Regions from separate parts of the Homo sapiens genome. Here regions 1 and 2 are each linked to region 3. Evidence: promoter capture Hi-C in 16 types of primary human blood cells and fetal thymus (Javierre and others, 2016). All regions are on one chromosome and are shown on one strand. The core of a region is centred on a gene start or on the middle of the fragment in contact, and the rest is flanking DNA. Distances in the headings are between cores, read along the strand shown. Region 1 overlaps OSBPL2 (oxysterol binding protein like 2). Region 2 holds the start of ADRM1 (ADRM1 26S proteasome ubiquitin receptor). Region 3 holds the start of LAMA5 (laminin subunit alpha 5).

Evidence for each region. The method cuts DNA at HindIII sites, captures the fragments that hold promoters and counts their contacts. A CHiCAGO score of 5 or more calls a contact.
Region 1: a contact is called between a fragment that was not itself captured here and the fragment with the promoter of LAMA5 in region 3, in 4 of 17 cell types (endothelial precursors, megakaryocytes, total B cells and 1 more). The highest score is 6.7, in endothelial precursors.
Region 2: the fragment with the promoter of ADRM1 here is called in contact with the fragment with the promoter of LAMA5 in region 3 in 2 of 17 cell types (endothelial precursors and naive B cells); the score reaches 6.8 in endothelial precursors.

The regions. Positions count from the first base shown.
Region 1 is chr20:62,278,531-62,282,159 of GRCh38, reverse strand. It overlaps OSBPL2 (oxysterol binding protein like 2), which reads right to left. Exons shown (of 14, transcript NM_144498.4): 7 at 2,821-3,003; 8 at 995-1,102; 9 at 281-370. Among named protein-coding and RNA genes, the nearest start is that of ADRM1, 23 kb to the left of the region's middle. RefSeq lists an enhancer at 2,727-3,227. The HindIII fragment of the contact is 1,436 bases long and covers 1,312-2,747 here.
Region 2 is chr20:62,301,255-62,304,973 of GRCh38, reverse strand. It overlaps ADRM1 (ADRM1 26S proteasome ubiquitin receptor), which reads right to left and starts at 1,977. Exons shown (of 10, transcript NM_007002.4): 1 at 1,925-1,977; 2 at 1,193-1,406; 3 at 397-513. The coding sequence starts at 1,405. RefSeq lists silencers at 1,868-2,327, 2,348-2,467. The HindIII fragment of the contact is 19,122 bases long and covers 1-3,719 here.
Region 3 is chr20:62,365,148-62,368,662 of GRCh38, reverse strand. LAMA5 (laminin subunit alpha 5) reads left to right here and starts at 1,351. Exons shown (of 80, transcript NM_005560.6): 1 at 1,351-1,714. The coding sequence starts at 1,418. RefSeq lists a silencer at 1,228-1,667 and enhancers at 1,847-2,546, 3,245-3,515. The HindIII fragment of the contact is 18,996 bases long and covers 1-3,515 here.

The DNA.
Region 1 (3,629 bases), core at 780-3,279, 87 kb after region 3:
AATAGCTGACTTCTCAAGACAATTTTATCAAAAGAAGATGGCCCCAGTAACAAGCCACCTAGAAACTACATTCAAAAATACCCTTTATTTCCTTTTATGCTCAATAACAAAATGTCTTTCCAAAACAAAAAAGAGTCATACTTCTGGACCATGAACAGATGGCACTGGTGTACCCGCGTCTCATGCACGTAGGCACACGCAGGCCCAGGAGCACCTGAGCCCTTCTAACGTGGACACACAGGCTGTAGTGGTGCCCCATGAACACTTGGCAAGGACCTACTTTTTGTCTTGAATGTGTCCTTCCACCTTGTGAAGTTCTTTTCCAAATAATCCACACGGTTTAAAGTGAAGCACACACTTATGTCCAGTTCTGTGAGAAAAACAAACACAGGTTTCTGCTGCAAGACAGCAAACAGCCGGAAAGGGTAACTCTGTAACAGGAGAAGCGCGGTGGAGGCCCCTGGGGCAGGCGGGGGGTGACTGCAAATGGGTGTGGTGGGCCTTTGGGGCGATGGAAGTGTTTGAAATGGGCTGTGGGGACGGCTCCATGATTCGGTCAATTTACTAAAAATCACTTAAGTGTCCATTCAGAATGGGCGAGTCTTATGATGCATCGATTATACCTCACTAAAGTGGTGAAAAGGCAAAGCCCACCAGTCATGAGCTTCCAGGAATAGGGCATTCAAGCCTAGACAGTGGCCAACGGCCGTGGACGGCCACTGCGCTGCACCTGGCAATGACACAGCTCTTCAGCATAGCTCAAAGCCTTAAAGTAACAACCGTGACGAAAAACGAGGTCTTGAACGAGGAGCATTCATGGCCAACACCGGTCAGAGTCAAGTCTAGGCAGCTGCTATGCCTGGGCTGGCGGGGACACGGCAGCAGCTCGTGAGGCTGAGCTAAAACCCACCAGGAGCACGGATGCTCACGCTCCCCGGCTCGCCCATCCCCACCCGGAGCCTCGCGCTCTCACCCAACGGTGGGGTGCTGTCACCTGTGGTTTAAAATCTCCACTGTCCCATACTGCTCTATCCACAGCTTCCCGATGATGACGTTGTGGACGCAGCAGGTGGGGTTGGTCCAGGTGTAGGCTTCATTATGTCTGTGAAGACACCAGAAAACAAGCAGTGAGAGTCCAGAAAAGCCAAGACACGACGTGACCCAAGACGCAACGACCAGGCGGGGCTGGGTCACAGCAACCGGCACCCGCGGGAGAGCAGCACGCTGCTTTGAAGCCCCTGCGACGGAGGCTGTGTATTTAGCATGCGTTTGAAATGTACTTCTTCTTTCCTTTGTAGCATCTACAAAGCTTTCTACTTAAATGTCAAGACAAGTTAATAAGCAATCAAAGAAGACTGAACAAAGACAAATGGCTTTCCTGTGAAGTCGTCAAAAGAAAGGCCACCTCACGAAACACACACGGCAGTAATGCAGGGTCCTGGGCATGCGGCCCTGGCTTTCTGGGGAGCTGGCACATGGCTGTGGAGGGGTGCAGGGTTTTCAACCGCACTCCACATACTTGTTTCCTTTACTCCTCATCCTCCCAAATGGCCCTGCCCAAGAAGAAAACACCCCACCAATGTGAGGCAGCAGATCAGCAGCCCTATGTTCTAAGGTGCTACGTGGGGGAGCCACAGTGAAGGCAGAAATCTGCTCAGAGCAGGGTATTTTGCCACACGTCTGGAATTCTCTCAATTTCCTGGGGGTGGAACCCAAACTGGTTCATCAGCAAGGTTATCAGCAAGGTGTGCAACTTTATCAGCAAGGTGTGCAACTTCTCATTTCTGCATGCCTCTTAATTAAGCAAGGCCACTGCACAACAGGCACTCGGCCATACCAGCCCCAGGACACACTCTCAGGGGCTTCTCCAGGTCCTTGTGGAACCTTCTAGCCACCATCCAGGCAGGGCCAATGTGAAGCAAAACCCAAATCAAATGCTTCATCAGGCAAGGTGTCGTTTATTACTTATTTCTGTATGTATTTGTTAGGACCTGCTGCCTACAACAAGACTGCAGGCAGTGGCTTGGCAAGACTCACGTCTCAGAACTGGTGGCCCAGGAGGACGCCAGCATCCGGTCTGTGTCTGTCGGGTCTTAGCGGCCGGCATTTGTTGGAGACTTGTGTTTTGCTCTGAGGTGTCTTTGGTTGACACTGGATTGGGGAGCATTTAGGCTGAGAGTGAAGAGGGGTGGCAAGCAGCCTCTCAGAGGGTCCCCTCCCACGCTGTTTCAAATTCCAACCCTAAGTCACCCCTGCCACATGAGCACAGGGTGGGGGAGTGTGCAAAGGGCCACTTCCCTGGCTTCCTTCTCAGCTCTCTCCCCCTGTGGGAGGCAGTGCCCTGCAGCAAGCAGCCCAGAAGGGGAGCCAGGACACAGGCGCCATGGGCAACCCAACCCTCATTGCCACCGCAACCTCACGGTCCCCGGCCCTCAGACACCTGCCAGCCTGGTGTGGAAGCTGCTAAGTTTGGGACAGTTATGCAGCAAAAGACAAGAAATACAATGAATGATGCCGGAAAGCGGGGTGAGTTCCAACTGCAGACGTGAGGATGCACCCCAGCAACATGGGACCCTGGTCATACAATGAATGATGTGACCGAAAGGGGGGCGAATTCCAACTGCAGACGTGAGGACGCACCCCAGCAACACGGGACCCTGGTCAGGAAGCTCATCTGAAGACGTTTCTGCTGTGGGGAGGTCCCCACCTCAGGAGAAAAATGACAGGGTTTCCTCCTGAAGGAAGCTTTCCCTCCACATCACCAGCACCCATTTCAGTTTCTGCAGGAAGCGGATCTCAGCAGGACGCACCGACACTCACTTGAGCAGCTCCAGGGTGATGGTGCCTCGGGGCTCCGCCTCCACGCTTTTGCCCCAGAACTTGAGCTTGGGGTAGATGGAGCCATGGAACAGGAAGTCATGGTTGAGACCTTCCGAGTGGAACGCACTGATGGGGGGGTGGTGACTGACCTGTTCCGATATAAATCTGAATCCTAAATCTTCCCTAGGTCAAAGAATAAAAAAGAGAGACACATTAATGGCAGCAAAATAAAAGAAAGGGCAGCTCAGACATCATGTGGAGCCCCTCACAGGACGCTGGGAAGCAGGGGCCCTCCATGCCACAACATGTGGCGGAAACACCCAACACCACCTCTCCGACATTGCACTTGGCCTAACGTTGGCAACAGACACACACACAAACATGACATCGCACTTGGCCTAACGTTGGCAACAGACACACACACACAAACATGACATTGCACTTGGCCTAACGTTGGCAACAAACACACACACAAACATGACATCGCACTCGGCCTAACGGCAACAGACACACACACAAACACGATATCGCACTCGGCCTAACGTTGGCAACACACACACAAACATGACATCGCACTCGGCCTAACGTTGGCAACACACACACAAACATGACATCGCACTTGGCCTAATGTTGGCAACAGACACACACACACAAACATGACATTGCACTTGGCCTAACGTTGGCAACACACACACAAACATGACATCGCACTTGGCCTAACATTGGCAACAGACACACACACAAACATGACATCGCACTCGGCCTAACGTTGGCAACAGACACACACACAAACATGACATCGCACTCGG
Region 2 (3,719 bases), core at 728-3,227, 64 kb after region 3:
TGTGGAAAGTGTGAGCAGGATGCTTCGTTTCTGTGAGCACCAGCAGGGAAGCCACACAGGGGCCTCTGCCTCTGCTGTGGGGGCCTCAGTGACCCACGGCAAGGGGCAGAGAGAGGGCACTGGGCATCGTTAGAACCAGGGCCAGCATGTCTGTCTGCCTGGAAATTTCACACCGCAATCGGTTGCCCGCAGCCCAGCCTGGAGCCTCCGTACTCTGGGAGAGGACCTCGGCCCCAGGTAGCATGCACCGCAGCCCTGAGGTGGCATCTCAGGCCGTGTGGCCGGGTGTGGCCGGCGCCTGCTGGTTTATAAAAGCCAATTGCACCACACTGTAAGCAAGTTCCTAACCGAATCGCAGGGCAACAAAAAGGCACAACCCCAAGGCCTGCCCCATACCTGCATCCAGAAGAAAAGCCGCTTGGACCCTGCCTTGAACTTCAGCACGTAGACCCTCCCGCTGGGGCACTGCGGCACCCGCTTGAACTCACAGTCGTCAGGGAAGATGATCAAGTCCTGGCAAGCCAGGGGAAGAGAGAGTCAGTGGCGCAGATGGCATCACTGTGCCCAGTCTCAGGAGAGCGTACTGAGCCCTGGGTCTAACCGGGTGGGGTGCGCAAGGGGCAGCTAAGCCGCCAGACCCCTCGCTGGCAGGGTCTCCACAAGGCAGAGAAGCCAGGGTCAGAGACAGCCCATGAAAGGCAAGGCCGGGGGAGAGAGCAGGGAAAGGGGCCTTTCAGATGGCAACGGGGTTTCTGAGACGTGCTGGAAACAACATTCCCAGAGTAGTTAAAAAGTCAACGCTGAACTGCTCTCAAATGTAACAAAGAACAACTAAGAGTTTGAAAAACAAAGAAGACTGAGTGAAGCCGCCAGGCACAGAGCTCCAGGCTCTCCAGGGCCACACCTCCAACCCCAGGCACCTCACACGGACAGTTCAAGGCCAGGCACAGAGCTCCGGGCTCTCCAGGGCCACACCTCCAACCCAGGCACCTCACACGGACAGTTCAAGATACACAGTGGCCGAGATGCCCCTGTCACCGCGGAAACCAGGACGACCCATCAGCAGGGCAGTCGATGACGGCCCCACGAGCGGTCCCCAGATGCGGCCAAGCCCCCACCGCGAACTCCAAAGCGAGGACTCCGAGGGCCCGAGAAGTCGCCTGTCCTGCTGCTGCGGCTCAGGGACACTCACGTCTTCCACGTTCCCGGACGTCCTGTCCTTCCAGCAGAAGTGAATAAGCGAGTCGTCCGTCTGCTGAATGTACACCAGCCCTTTCCGCTTATCCGGAGTCACGGTGGTCCCCTTCAGGGACATCTTTCCCGCCCGAAACTCCACCAAGTACTTGTTGGAGGCGCCCCGAGAGCCTGGCACCAGGCTTGGAAAGAGCGCGCCTGAGGTCGTCATCCTGAAAGCGCGGAGAGGACGCTGAGACGCGGCGGTCACTGTCGCCTGCGGTCCGGCAAGCTCCCGCCCCCTGGGGTGTTTGCGAGCAGGGGGCCTGCGCCCAGAGCTGCCTAAGGCAGACTCAGACACGCCGGGCTGCCTTTCCGCGTTTGCCCCGCTCACGACGATCGCACCGCCCGCACTCGGCGCTGGGCCGGGGCAGCCCCGCCAAGCCTAGTGGGGCCGGCCCTAGGCTTGACGCCGTCTCCGCGGGGCACCAGCCTCGACGCGCCACCCCGGCGACCCGCTCCGCGGGGCAGACCCGCCCGAGCTCCCGCCGAGCCCCACGTTCAGAGCCGCAGGCGGAACCGGGGCGGCGCCCGAGACCCCAGAACCCCCGCCCGGCCCGGCCCCCGCAGGCCCCACCCGCCGCGCCGGCCACCTTCTCGTCTTGGCTGCCCCCGCCCCATCCTTGGTCCAGCAGCCCCTGCCCCCGCCTCCGGTCGCCCCCGGCCGCCCCAGGCCCGGCGACTCCCGCACCTGCCTCGCGCCCACACTCGTTCGAGAGGCGCCGTCCGGGCTCGCTCTTCCTCCTCGGCGCCTGCCGGGCCCCGCCGGAAACCCGCGTTCGGCCCGCCCCGCCTGCCGCTCTCGCCGCCGATTGAGCCCCGTAAGCCGCGCAGCCGGCTCTAACCTGCCAACGATTGGCGAGGGCGACCGTCCATCGCACTCGCTCCTCCCCGGTCCGCCCCCGCGCCGGCGGCTCTTTTCCGGCGGAAGCGCGGGCCGCAGGGCGCTTGGACCAGAGCGGCCCCTATTGTTGCTGTGTCATAGGGGAGCGGCGGCGGCCCCTAGAGGCGGCGCCAGGGACCACAGGCGGGTTTCAGAGGGGCGCTGGGGAACTGCTCAGGTGGGGCCGAGCCCACCCCTCGGCGTCGCCCGCCCGGGCGGGCAGAGCTGTCACTCGTGTGGCTGAGCCAGGGGTTAGGCGGAGGCCGAGGAGTGCGGTCCGGCTGTGGGCGGCGGGCACCAGGGCTACGCATAGAAGTGACCATGGGTTCAGCGCTTTGGGGACCCAGGCGGGAGCTGGAGTCCACGCGTCCGGGAGAGCAGGGGTCCGGGAGGGTAGAGCGAGGGTGAGAACCGTGATATGGTCTCAGCTGTATACATCTAGTCCCGCAGGGGTCCGGGAGGGCAGGGGTCAGGAAGGGGTGGGTCCGGGAGGAGAGGGGTCCCGAGAGGGGAGGGGCTCCTGGAGGGGAGGGATCTGGGAGGGGTGAGTCCGGGAGGGGAGGGGTTCCCGGAGGGGAGGGGGCCCGGGAGGGGAGAGGGTCCCGGAGGGGAGGGATCTGGGAGGGGTGAGTCCGGGAGGGAGGAGTCAGGGAAGGCCTGAGTCCCAGACGGGTAGGGTCCTGGAAGGGAGGGGTCCTGGAGGGCAGGGGCTCACCCTCTGGACGCCTGGATGGGAAAGGCCACAGGGTAAAAAGGCGGCAGTCGCCCGCCAGTGTTGTGTAACTTTGAGTCACTTTGACACAAACTAAAGCGAAGACAACAGATAGTGTTTGTGGCGCCCCAGCCGGCTGCTGAAGGGACACGTTCTTTGGGATTTGCCTACAGCGACGCCAGGCGGGGGCTCTTAGAGGGCTCAGGCGCGGTGGCTCACGCCTGTAAACCCAGAACTTTGGGAGGCCGAGGCGGGCGGATTACTTGAGGCCAGGAGTTCAAGACCAGCCTGGGCAACATGGTGAATGAAACCCCGACTCTACTAAAAATGCAAAAATTAGCCAGGTATGCTGGCACATGCCTGTAATTCCATCTACTCAGGAGGCTGATGCACGAGAATCGCCTGAACCCGGGAGGTGGAGGTTGCAGTGAGCCGAGATTGCACCACTGCACTCCAGCCTGGGCGACAGAGGAAGACTCCTTCTCAAAAAAAAAAAATAATAATAATAATAGTAATAAAATAGAGAGGTCAGGCGCTTCGTGAGAACCCTGAGGTGCAGTGGCCTCTGCACCCCAGTTAAGCAAGACTAGATGTTTGCAGCTGAGACTGTGCCAGGGTCCTCAGGTTCTCCTTTGCCCATCGCTCACTTCCTTCTTTCCTTCAGATACTTCACTCCCTTCGGGCGCTCCCCGGGGTCACCGTGTGCTTGGTGGCTCACCCTCAGAGTGGATGCACAGCTGTGTGCTTACGTGCTCTCTGAGGTCTTTAGGTGTGTGTTTTCACTCACCCTTGTTGGGAGATGCGTTGGTGTTGATGCTGGCAGCTCCAGTCCTTTCATTCTGCAGGGAGCCTACTACTCAGGCCTCCATTGTCTCGGTGGCAGAGCTTGTG
Region 3 (3,515 bases), core at 102-2,601:
CCCCCTCCCCCAGGTGGGAGAACTAATAGTGAAGTTATGGAAGAATTGCCGGGCCGGAAAGTAGGAGGAGGGAGAGAGGGTCCCATCGCCCTCCCGACTCCGTAGAGAAAGGGCCATACACCCTCTTGGGATTTGAGATTTGCAGGAGGCCAGGGCGCCAGGAAGGTGTGCAAGGAGGTGCACCCTCCAGGGACAGCTGCTAGCTCAGAACCCCCACCAGAACCGGCTGGCCAGTGCCCCACAAACCCACCCAGCCCCCCGGGACTGTCCAGGGAACCCAGCGAGAGATGAGCCCCACAGCCCATCTGGGACCATGGCCCGCCCAGCTGGCCTGGCTCAGGGATGGGGGTTTGCTGCCAGCTCGGCAGCTGCAGCCCCACCCCGCCGCCACCCCCTCGGGGCTTCCCTGGAGGCAGATTTGGCCCCGGAGCCCAAGGGAAGTAGGAGACCCAGGGCCGCAGCCACCCAAAGGCAGACGAAGACCTGATCTCGGCCTCTAGGTCCTGTGCTGTTTGCCAGGCGTCCTCGAGCCGCCGATCGTGGCAGGAACGCGTGCGCGGCTGTGCAGCGGGTTGGAGGCCAGGCCGAGAGAGCTGGTGGAGTCCACCGGGCCCCGGAGCACAGGTGCTTCCAGGCACCCAGCAGGTGCTCAGCAGCTGTGACCAGAGCCCCCGACCTCCTTAAGAGCCAATTTGGCGGCTGTGGGGCCATGAGCACCGCCCCCGTCCTCTAAAGGGGGCTGCAGCTGCAGGCCAGTCCCTCCTGCCCCTATTTCCCTATCTGAGAGTATTTTTAAGCCCTGCTGGGGCAGGCGGGAGCCAGGCCGAGTTGAACCTGACCTGGCTGCCCCAGGAAGCAGGGGGTTCCCACCTAGGCTGCCCCGTTCCTCTGCAGATGGTCATTCGCGGGTGCAGAGGGCACCTTCCCGCAGCCAGCAGGACGGACGCTGTTGGGGGAGGAGCGGGGGCAGCCGAGTGGTGCACCCAAGTTAGGGGAACAAAGAGTGGGCCCCTGGGCTGGGAGGAGCTGGTGGGCGCTCTGGGGGCCAGGGCGTCGTGGGGAGCGCTAGGGTCCCACCCGGGACCCGGAGCTACGACCTGGGCTGGGGGCCCGGCGGCGCCGTCGTCCCACGGCCTGGCCCGAGGCCAGCAGGTGCCCCTTCCGGGAGGCGGCCGGGCCGGGGTCCGAAGGGTTAAGGCCGCCCGGCCGCCCCTCCCCCTCCTCTCTCCTTCCCCCCCCCACCCCGCCTCCCCGGACCTCTCCCCGGGGCTCGGGGCTCGGGCGCTCGGGCGGGCCGGGGCGGGGCCTGACGTCCGCGGGCGGAGCGAGCCCTGCCGGCCGCCTGGCTTCAGACCCGCCGGGCTCCCGCCGCGCGCGCTGTCCCTGGAGCTCGGGGACGCGGCCCGGAGCCGGGAAGATGGCGAAGCGGCTCTGCGCGGGGAGCGCACTGTGTGTTCGCGGCCCCCGGGGCCCCGCGCCGCTGCTGCTGGTCGGGCTGGCGCTGCTGGGCGCGGCGCGGGCGCGGGAGGAGGCGGGCGGCGGCTTCAGCCTGCACCCGCCCTACTTCAACCTGGCCGAGGGCGCCCGCATCGCCGCCTCCGCGACCTGCGGAGAGGAGGCCCCGGCGCGCGGCTCCCCGCGCCCCACCGAGGACCTTTACTGCAAGCTGGTAGGGGGCCCCGTGGCCGGCGGCGACCCCAACCAGACCATCCGGGTGAGCGCAGGGGCGGGCCGTGGGGCTTCCTCCCGGGGCACTCGGACCCGGAACACCGGCCCGACCCCAGGGGGAGCGCCGTGGCCCGGGGCGAGTCCAGGTGCGGACTCTCTGGTTCCGCATTTTGGGGGCCCAAGAAGGCACCCCGACCCGGCCGCTCCGTCTCGGCCGGGAAACTTCGCGTCCCTCCGGGAAGGCGGAATTAAAGTCCCCGGCATGGACCCGGGGGCGGCTGGGCGCCGGTCCAGTTCGACTGCGGTGACCGGGGCGGGAGGGGGGCCGGGCCCAGTCCCTGGCGGCCCCAAGTCCGGGATCCCGGGGAGGGCGGGACTTGGCCTCCGCCGCCTGCTGCCGGTGGGGAGGGGGCGCAGCTCCGCCCTACCCGGGACAGGCTGGAACCTGTTGGCCTCTGGATGGGGTGGGAGGGGCCAGCCACCTGAGGCTCCCACTAGCCCCTCTCGGAGGAGTCTAGGGACTCGAGGAGACCTCCAAAGTAGGGGAGGGCCAGCTGCGAAGTTTTGACTGGGGCTGGGAACACGTGGCTCCCAGGAGGGGCAGCATCTCTGCCCAGCAGGTGGTAGGGTCCGGGGGCTTCAGTCTCCCTGGGAGATGTGGGTTCAGGCCCTGAAGACCCCCTGGGGTGCATGTCCCCTCCCCAACAAGCCTTAAACCTGTAGGCGGGTTCTGTTGGTGGACTCCATGCATGGACACCTCACCTGAAAACCAAGGCTCTTGGGGCCCTGTAGACTTAGGTTGGGCCTGGGGTCAGCCTTGGGTGAGGAGCAGCAAAGTCAGCTCCAACGGCTCCCAACCGGCCGCTCTAGGCCCATTCCCCACCTCAGCCCCACCTTAGGGAGAGTCTAGGGGCCCTGAGGGCCTGTGTAACCTGAGCTGTCTCCTCCCTGGTACCTCTGCCTTCCCGGAAGGAGAGGCTGGGGCAGGGGCGAGTAGCTGGAGATTTGCTGGGTGGGGGCAGAGGGCCCTGGAGCAAGACGTTATGGGGATGAATGGAGGAGCCTGGGCTGGGCCCGCCCCCTCTGCCTGCCCCACCCCCTTGGCCCTGGTGGAGGGGGAAGGAGCCTCCCCAGGCTTCTGGGCTCACCGTTCTCTCCTTAAGCCCAGCACAGTCCTCTGAGATAGGAGGTCTCAAGCCCACACTTCAGATGGGGGATCTGAGCCCTGGAAAGCTGCTGACACCTGCTTGGAGCCCCCCAGCCAGAACAGGGTCCAGCGGGGGTTAGCTGTGGGAACCTGGGTGCCTCCTGGCTGCCCCCTTATCTGGTCAACTCAGAGGGGCCGGGTCTCAGGACGGAGGGCCTGTGACTGTCTCCTTACCTGCTGCCACACCTCACCACAGAGGGCCTGGCTGAGTGTCCCCAGCTGAGATTTTGCCGTTCTGGCAGGGGAGGCTCCAGGTGCCCTGTGAACCTCAGACCACCCCCCCACAGCCTGCCCATGCTGCGTGGCTGGGGGCCACAGGCCCCCTCTCAGATCTGTCTCCTCTGTGGGGGCTTATTACCCCCGTCTCGTGAGTAAAGGGCCAGCCTGTAGTCAACGCCCCTCTCCTCTGCCTCAGCTGTGTGGCTTCCCTCTGTCAGCCTCAAGCTGTCTTTAAAATGGGCACAGCGTGCTGGCCCCCCTCACCTGAGACTGTGAGCTTGGCCCGAGGAGCCTGGGAAGTGGCCACAGTTTCAGTGGCAGCTGTGGGCTGTGGTGCTCCATGCCTCAGAGCCAGCTTGGATGAGAAACCAGCCGGCCTCGCCCAGCTCATGTCTAGCAATAGAGGTGAACCCTTCGCTTC